Regions from separate parts of the Homo sapiens genome. Here regions 2 and 3 are each linked to region 1. The links are contacts of gene promoters, found by promoter capture Hi-C in human tissues and cell types (Jung and others, 2019). All regions are on one chromosome and are shown on one strand. The core of a region is centred on a gene start or on the middle of the fragment in contact, and the rest is flanking DNA. Distances in the headings are between cores, read along the strand shown. Region 1 holds the start of MYPOP (Myb related transcription factor, partner of profilin). Region 2 has its middle 25 kb from the start of IGFL1. Region 3 overlaps LOC105372424 (a long non-coding RNA gene).

What was found. Contacts are between HindIII fragments. The study calls those that stand out against the background at their distance.
Region 2: a fragment that was not itself captured here is called in contact with the fragment with the promoter of MYPOP in region 1 in 1 of the 25 tissues and cell types used here (lymphoblastoid cells).
Region 3: a contact is called between a fragment that was not itself captured here and the fragment with the promoter of MYPOP in region 1, in 2 of the 25 tissues and cell types used here (lymphoblastoid cells and mesendoderm cells).

What each region holds. Positions count from the first base shown.
Region 1 is chr19:45,901,357-45,903,878 of GRCh38, forward strand. It overlaps MYPOP (Myb related transcription factor, partner of profilin), which reads right to left and starts at 1,257. Exons shown (of 3, transcript NM_001012643.4): 1 at 1,214-1,257; 2 at 1-469. The coding sequence starts at 417. RefSeq lists enhancers at 1,020-1,069, 1,500-1,609 and silencers at 1,260-1,309, 1,870-1,949. The HindIII fragment of the contact is 9,891 bases long and covers 1-2,522 here.
Region 2 is chr19:46,253,594-46,256,115 of GRCh38, forward strand. No RefSeq gene overlaps it. Among named protein-coding and RNA genes, the nearest start is that of IGFL1, 25 kb to the left of the region's middle. The HindIII fragment of the contact is 4,943 bases long and covers 1-2,522 here.
Region 3 is chr19:46,170,601-46,173,122 of GRCh38, forward strand. The region is part of intron 4 of LOC105372424 (a long non-coding RNA gene); the gene reads right to left. It also overlaps a transcript of IGFL2 not described here. Among named protein-coding and RNA genes, the nearest start is that of IGFL2, 24 kb to the left of the region's middle. RefSeq lists an enhancer at 32-582. The HindIII fragment of the contact is 4,773 bases long and covers 1-2,522 here.

The DNA of each region.
Region 1 (2,522 bases), core at 7-2,506:
GGCCGCAGGGGGCTCCTCCGCCCCAGCACCTGCCCCCGGCGCCGCCACACCTGGCCCCAGGATGGCAAAAATGGTCTCCTCTTCCGCGGAGAAAGCGTCCTCCGCGGCGGGCCCGGCGCCCTGCGTGGAGTGCGGCACGCGAGCGAGCTTCTCCTTGGTGCGGCGCTTGAAGTCGTTCCAGCGCTTCTGCACCTCCTGGCCCGTGCGCTTCCAGCTGGTGATACCGTTGATCTTGGCGGCGATGCCGTCCCACACGCGCCGCCGCTCTGCCACGCTCACCCGACGGCTCTGCGCGCCGTAGAGCTGCGGGTAGTGGGCGCGCACCTCGCGGATCAGGATCTGGTTCTCTTCGAATGAGAAGCGCGGCTTGCGCAACCGGGTGGTTTCCTCCGCTTCGCCCGCCGCCGCCGAGGCCATGGCGCCCCCCGACGCCGCCGTCCTGCCGTCTGGCGCATGGGGGGCGCCGGCGCTGCGGGCAAAGGGCGCACGGGGCTGGCTGGGGTTCGGGGTCCCCCCGCCGCCGCCTCTCCCAGACCGCCGGGCCGAGAGCTCCTTAGTCCCCGGGGGCAGGAGTGGGGGCGGGGGGCGGGCGGGGGCGACGGGCACCCGGGTAAGTCGGAAGCGCCTAAGAGTAGCTGACACCGGCTGAGCGCTTGGCTCGGACTTCGCGCGGCGCGAAGTGCCACGCTGAAGAGTTGATAGAAATTGGGGGAGGGTCTGGAGGGATGGAAGGAAAGGAGGAAAAGTGCGAGGAGAGGAGGTGTCTGCAGGAGTTAGAGAATGGGGGCACGGGAGGATAGGAAATGGAGGGAGGATGGGGGTGCCTCGGGGGGGTCTTAGATGCATGAAGATAAGGAGATGCGGAAGGGGGGATGCAGCAAGAAGGGGGGAATCTGGAGCAGAGGAGGCGCTCTAGGGGCTCTAGGGGGCAACGGGGCGTCTGTAAGACCGATATGAGAAGGGCCCTTAGAGGGATGTCCAGGAATAATGGTGAGGTGGGAGCTCCTGTATCACTGGAAGAGCTGGAACGATCAAATATTAGGGATCAGGGTCTGCGAGGATTGTGGGGGCTCTGGGGATTGCCAGAAATTAAGGGGAGCTCTGGAAATAACGGGGGTCCCGTATCACAAGGAGACAACGGAGGCTACGGGGGACGGCAGGGAGAGCGAAGGTCGCGGAGGGTGGGGACCGAGTCGGGCCACGGGTCACTCACCGGCTCCGCCGCAGCCGCCGGTGGGTCAGGGCTCGGGCTTCTGCGGCCTGTTCCCACCCCCCGCCTCCCTCCCTCCCCTCTTTCGGCCCCGCCTCCGGCCGCCCCGCATGCCAAGGCGCAGGCGCGCCCAGGGCCAGTCGGCCCCAATGCCCTTACCGCCAGGGTTTCATTCCCACCTACCCCAGCACAGCGCAGGCGCAGAACTGCGCTCCGCCGAGCCCCACCAGCAGGCCGCAACTGCGCAGCCGCAACGTTAGCGCCGCGCGGGTACCCCAGCTTCCTGGGGCCACAACGGCGCACGCGCAAAAACTCCATCGCGCGCATGCGCGTGCCTCGGGTTGTACCCGGTACCGGGTCTCGGCGCAGGCGTTGCGAGCTTGGATGGGAGAGATGCTGGGAGCGCGCCAGTACCCAACCTTTCGGACAGTCTTCCAGCCCACCCTGCCCTCTAACCAAAGGGGAGGGAGACAGCGCTGAAGGGAAGCGCTTTGTCTCCTTGACAACTGTGTGGGTGGGGTGGAGGCGTGAGGAAACCGCTTTGCCTCCTGGCTTGCCCGCCCCTGCGCTGGGCCGCTCCAGAGCTTCCCACCTCGCACCCCTAGAGGCTGGGCGTCCTGGGGATGTCCCGCCCCGGGCGGATGCAGTAACCATAGCGACCCACAAGCCTTCCAGTCACGCCTTGGGGGCCCCTCTGTGCGCACCTTTACCTCGAGGAGCGGGGAAAATAAGAGGGAAGAGCTTCCTGGCTGGTAGGAAGGGAGATCCTGACGCCGGCACGACTTTAAGCAAGTGCATGGAGACAGGAATGAAGCCAGAACGCAGGTGGGGTGAGCCGCATGGCAGGATGATGGAGCTCAGTCCGGCTGAGAAGTGTGTTCGTTAGCATCCTGCAGGAGTCCTCAAGGTCATTCGACAATTGGTGCTTCATTCATCGACTCAATAAATATACATGAGCACTTACACAGTTCCTGGTACAATGAACATAAAAGCTAAAATCCGTAGCCTGGGCCGGGCGCGGTGGAGCTCACGCCTGTAATCCCAGCACTTTGGGAAGCCAAGGCGGGCGGATTACCTGAGGTCAGGGGTTCGAGACAAGCCTGGCCAACACAGTGAAACCCCATCTCTACTGAAAATACAAAAACTAGCTGGGCATGGTGGTGCATGCCTGTAATCCCAGCTACTCGGGAGGCTGAGGCACGAGAATCGCTTAACCCCGGGAGGCAGAGGTTGCAGTGAGCTGAGATTGCACCACTGCACTCCACCTGGACGACAGAGTGAGACTCCGTCTCAAAAAAAAAAAAAAAAAAAA
Region 2 (2,522 bases), core at 8-2,507, 350 kb after region 1:
AGTGAGCTGAGACGGTGCCACTGCACTCCGGCCTGGGATATTGAGCGAGACTTCAACTTAAAAAAAAAAAAAATTTCTTGCATTTCTATACACTAACAATGAACAAGCCAAAAAGGAAATTAAGAAAACTACCTCATTTATAATACCATCAAAAAGAATAAAGTGCTTCAGGCCAGGCATGGTGGCTCACGCCTGTAATCCCAGCACTTTGGCAGGCTGAGGCAGGTGGATCACTTGAGGTCAGGAGTTCAAGACCAGCCTGGTCAACATGGTGAAACCCCGTCTCTACTAAAAATATGAAAATTAGCCGGGCATGGTGACGCTCGCCTGTAATCCTAGCTACTCCAGAGGCTGAGGCAAGAGAATTGCTTGAACCCAGGAGGGGGAGGTTACAGTGTGCCAAGATCATGCCACTGCACTCCAGCCTGGGCCACAGAGCAAGACTCTGTCTCAAAAAATAAAAATAAAAAAAGAATAAAATAATTCAGAATAAACTTAACCAAGAGAGCAAATGACTTGTATAGTGCAAACTACAAAACATTGTTGAAAAAAAGTAATGAAGACACAAATAAATGGAAAGACAGTCTGTGTTCATGGGTTGGAAGATTTAATATTGTAACAATGTCCATACTACCCAAAGTGATCTACAGCTTCAAAGCAATCTCTATCAAAATCTCAATGACAATTTTGCAGAAGCAGAAAAAATCCTAAAATTCGCATGGACTCTTAAGGGACCCTGAATAGACAAAATAATTTTGAAAAATAAAGAACAGGCCAGGCGCGGTGGCTCACGCCTGTAATCCCAACACTTTGGGAGGCCAAGGCAGGCGGATCACAAGGTCAGGAGATCGAGACCATCCTGGCTAACACAGCGAAACCCTGTCTTTACTAAAAAAAATACAAAAAATTAGCTGGGCATGGTGGTGGCCACATGTAGTCCCAGCTACTTGGGAGGCTGAGGCAGGAGAATGGTGTGAACCTGGAAGGCGGAGCTTGCAGTGAGCCGAGATCGCGCCACTGCACTCCAACCTGGGCAACAGAGCGAGACTCCATCTCAAAAAAAAAAAAAAAAAAATGAAGTTGGACCCTTATCTCTAACCATACACAAGAATTAGTTCAAAAAACTAATGAGATCCAAGGCCTAAATGCAAAAGTTAAAACTATAAAGCTCTTAGAAGAATACATAGGGAGAAAGCTTCCTGACATTGGACTTGGCAGATTTCTTGGATGTGACACCAAAAGTCCAGGCAAAATAGTAAACACCAATAAATTGAACTCCATCAAAGTCAGAAAGAAGAACAAACTTCAGGGCCATGTGTTGTGGGCATTTACCATGCCCTACAGGAATAGCCACAAACTTGATGATTCACTTTTAGGCAACAGATCTGGTTCCTTGGTTAACCAGTCCGGTTTCTTTAGCTTCCTTCCTTCCTGGAGGTTTTCCTATTCCGTTGTTAAGTGGGGCCAATGCCAAAAAGAAATTAGGGCAATCCCTGCTAGAGTATCTATCACCTTAATAGATTTCCTACTCCTACCAATTACTCAGGACGCAGATTCTTTGAGAAAGTTTCTCCTCCTTCCGAGACAAAATTTTACACATTAATATGTCTTATGCTACTTGCTGTTGCACATATCACTAATTGAAATGATACATTAATTTGCATAATTTGCTCATTTCTGTGCCTTCTTCTCTAGGCCGTGAGCTCCAGGGTGAAAGACTGAAGGCTCTTCCTCCAAGATCAGGAACAAGACAAAGAGACCTGCTTCTACCACTGCTATTTAACATTGTACTGGAGGTGCTAGCCAGAACCTTTAGAAAAAAAAAAAGAAAAGAAAAGAATTAAAAGCATCCAGAGAGAAAAGGAGGAGGAAGAAGAGGAGGAGGAGGTGAAACTGATGATAAAAACCCATCCAAGAATGTAAATGTGACATCTGCAGCAGGTTCAAATCTAAGCTATAAGACAAACGGAATCCTTCGTAAGGACTGTCATCTATTATGCACAGAGAGCCGAAATCCATTACTGAAATTCTCTTGGTGAGCCACCTGATGGGCCCAGTGACGTACTAGTACACACAGGAGTTGAAACAAAAAAAAGTCTGGCATATTCTTTGGATGACTGGCAGAGTGTGACACCAATATGGTACCCAGCCCTACTATCATTACAAGGACTTCATGACCAAAAAAATAATAGAGAATTGTTTTGGTGGTTAAAACAATTAAAAGCATCCAAATTGGAAAGGAAGAGGTAAAAGCATCTCTATTCACAGAAACATAATCTTATTTATAGAAAACACTAAACCTTCCACACACACACACCCCAAATAAAACACCTGTTAGAATTAACAAACAAGGCCGGGCGCAGTGGCTCACGCCTGTAATCCCAGCACTTTGAGAGGTCGAGGTGAGTGAATCACCTGAGGTCAGGAGTTCAAGACCAGTCTGGCCAACATGGCAAAACCCCGTCTCTACTATATACAAAAAATTAGCGGGGTGTGGTGGTACGCACCTGTAATCAAAGCTA
Region 3 (2,522 bases), core at 14-2,513, 270 kb after region 1:
AAAACAGGTAAGAGAAATATTGCTGAATTCTTTTCCCAGTAAGGAATATTAATAATTAACAGCCCTGGGAAAATAATGCCTTCCCAGGGGGGCCTCTAAAATGGCCACTCTGGGGGTGTCTGCCTTATGCAGTTGCAGATAAGGGATGAAACATGCTCTGGCCTCCTGCAGCACCCCCAGGCTTGCTAGGATTAGGAAATTCCAGCCTGGCGAATTCTAGTCAGACCAGTTCTCTGCTCTTGAACCCTGTTAAGATGTTTATCAATGACAATGTGTGCACGGCGGGACATGAAACTTCATTAGTGATTTTAGTTTCACCCTGACCTTGTGATCTCGCCCTGACCTTCTGCCCTTGTGATCTTTTGTCGCCCTTGAAGCATGTGATCTCTGTGACCCACACCCTATTCGTACACTCCTTCCCCTTTGAAAATTGCTAATAAAACCCTATTTGTACACTCCCTCCCCTTTGAAAATTGCTAATAAAAACTTGCTGGTTTTATGGCTCAGGGGGCATCATGGAACCTGCCGACCTGTGATGTCTTCCCCAGACACCAAGCTTTACCATTTCTTTCTTTTGTACTCTTTCGCTTTATTTCTCAGACTGGCCGACACTTAGGGAAAACAGAAAAGAACCTACGTTGAATTATCGGGGGCTGCTTCCCCCGATAAGTGATAGCCTGAATGAGTCACTTTCTGGGTCAAGAGCCAGGAGCTAAGTCAAGGGGAGTCAGCCAGAGGGAGGTGCTATTCAAGACGAGATTATGGGTGGGGTTCAGATTGACAGAGAGAAGAAGCTATTGGGCAAGAGTGGTGACTTGCTCACTCAGATGAGTTCGAAGATAATCTCTACTGATAAAACAATCAAACTTAGACCATACCATTCATGGAATGACATGGAGATGCACATTTCAGAGTATTGTGTCTTATTTTTCTCTATCTCCATTTTCTGTCAGGGCAAATTAACTCTGAGTACAATTTACAACTGCCTTCTCTTCCTTGGACTCAGCATAGCTCTCAGCAGTCTCCTGTCTTATAGGGACAGCCTGCTGTTTCTCATATTCCATAGGTCTAGTCTATTGTTGACTTACCCAACCTCTCAAGGAGAAAATGCGAGTACACTTACTTTATCTTTTGATAACTCCCTTCTTGAACTCCCCATCAGTATGAAGCTCACCCTGTTGAATGGCCTAGATGGAGGATATTACAAGGAACCAAAAGGACATTCAGGAAAAGTGAGAATTTTTTTTACCAAGTGATAAGTTTTATAAGAATGAAAAGTGGGTGCCGTACAGGTAAAATTGGTGCAAATAATATATTGTTACACCAAAAGGAATTTGAAGCTCTGAAGAACTTTCACCAGGAATCTGAATTGCAAAAAAAAAATTATGTGTGATGAAGATTAATGATAGAAACATCCCTAATTCAAAAGGTCTTATTTTTGCTTTGGATTAAGCATGCAAAAATCTGGAGTAGTCCTTGGCAGGAAGTGTTCTTGCTGTTGACTCCAGAGATACGGACTTTGGAAGTGGAAGCCATTAACCTGGATGTAACTGAATGGTTATATAGTCTAAGGTAGAAGAAATCGTGTAAAGCCTGATAGTAAAAAGTGGCAAATTGTCCTGATTATCAAGGGGGGAATTGGGTAGTTACTACACAATCGGCAGAAGAGAGTATAACTATACCACTCACACAAGGCATTCTGTGGGATGCCTCTTAGAACTCCCACGTCCCATTGTAAAACATGGGAAAATGATAATAATCCATTACAGGAAGGACTCCTGAGGGAATGTATACTTCATGAAGACGTGAGTAACTTCACCAGGTTAAAAAATCACAGCCAGTTGAGGTGTTTGCTGAGAGCATAGGGATTATGGAATGGATAGTGGAAGAAATTTTTTTTCAGGTGGAGTTCTGTTACGTTCCCCAGGCTGGTCTTGAACTCCGGAACTCAAATGAGCCTCCCACCTCAGCCACCTGAGTAGCTGGGATTACAGGCATGTGCCACTGTGTCTAACTTGAAAGAGGAAATTTTTAAATGCCAGCTTTAGCCTCAAGGCCAGCTGCTGAAACAAGGACTAAGTTAGATATTTATATAATCTTCCTCACTTTGATGTGTATATATATATATTTTTTTTCAGACAAGGTCTCGCTCTGTCATGTAGACTGGAGTGCAGTGGTGCGATCTTGGCTCACTGTAACCTTCACTTTCCAGGTTCATGCAATCCTACCACCTCAGCCCTCTGAGTAGCTCTACAGACATGTGCCACCATGCCCAGCTGATGTGAATATAGTTTCTGTATTAACTGAGTCCTCTGCTTTTTGTCTCAGTGCCTTCATACCCCTCTATGTAATATAGGTTTATATTGGTTGATCCTTGGTATTTATAGCATGAAAGAGCAAAAGGGGTTGTTAGTCATCTGGGAGACGGACTAGCATTTTCAAATATCTCTTCCATAGAGAAGATTAAAGGTCTTTGGGTTGTAAAATGAATAGTTGCATCACATTAGGTGGAAAATAGTATT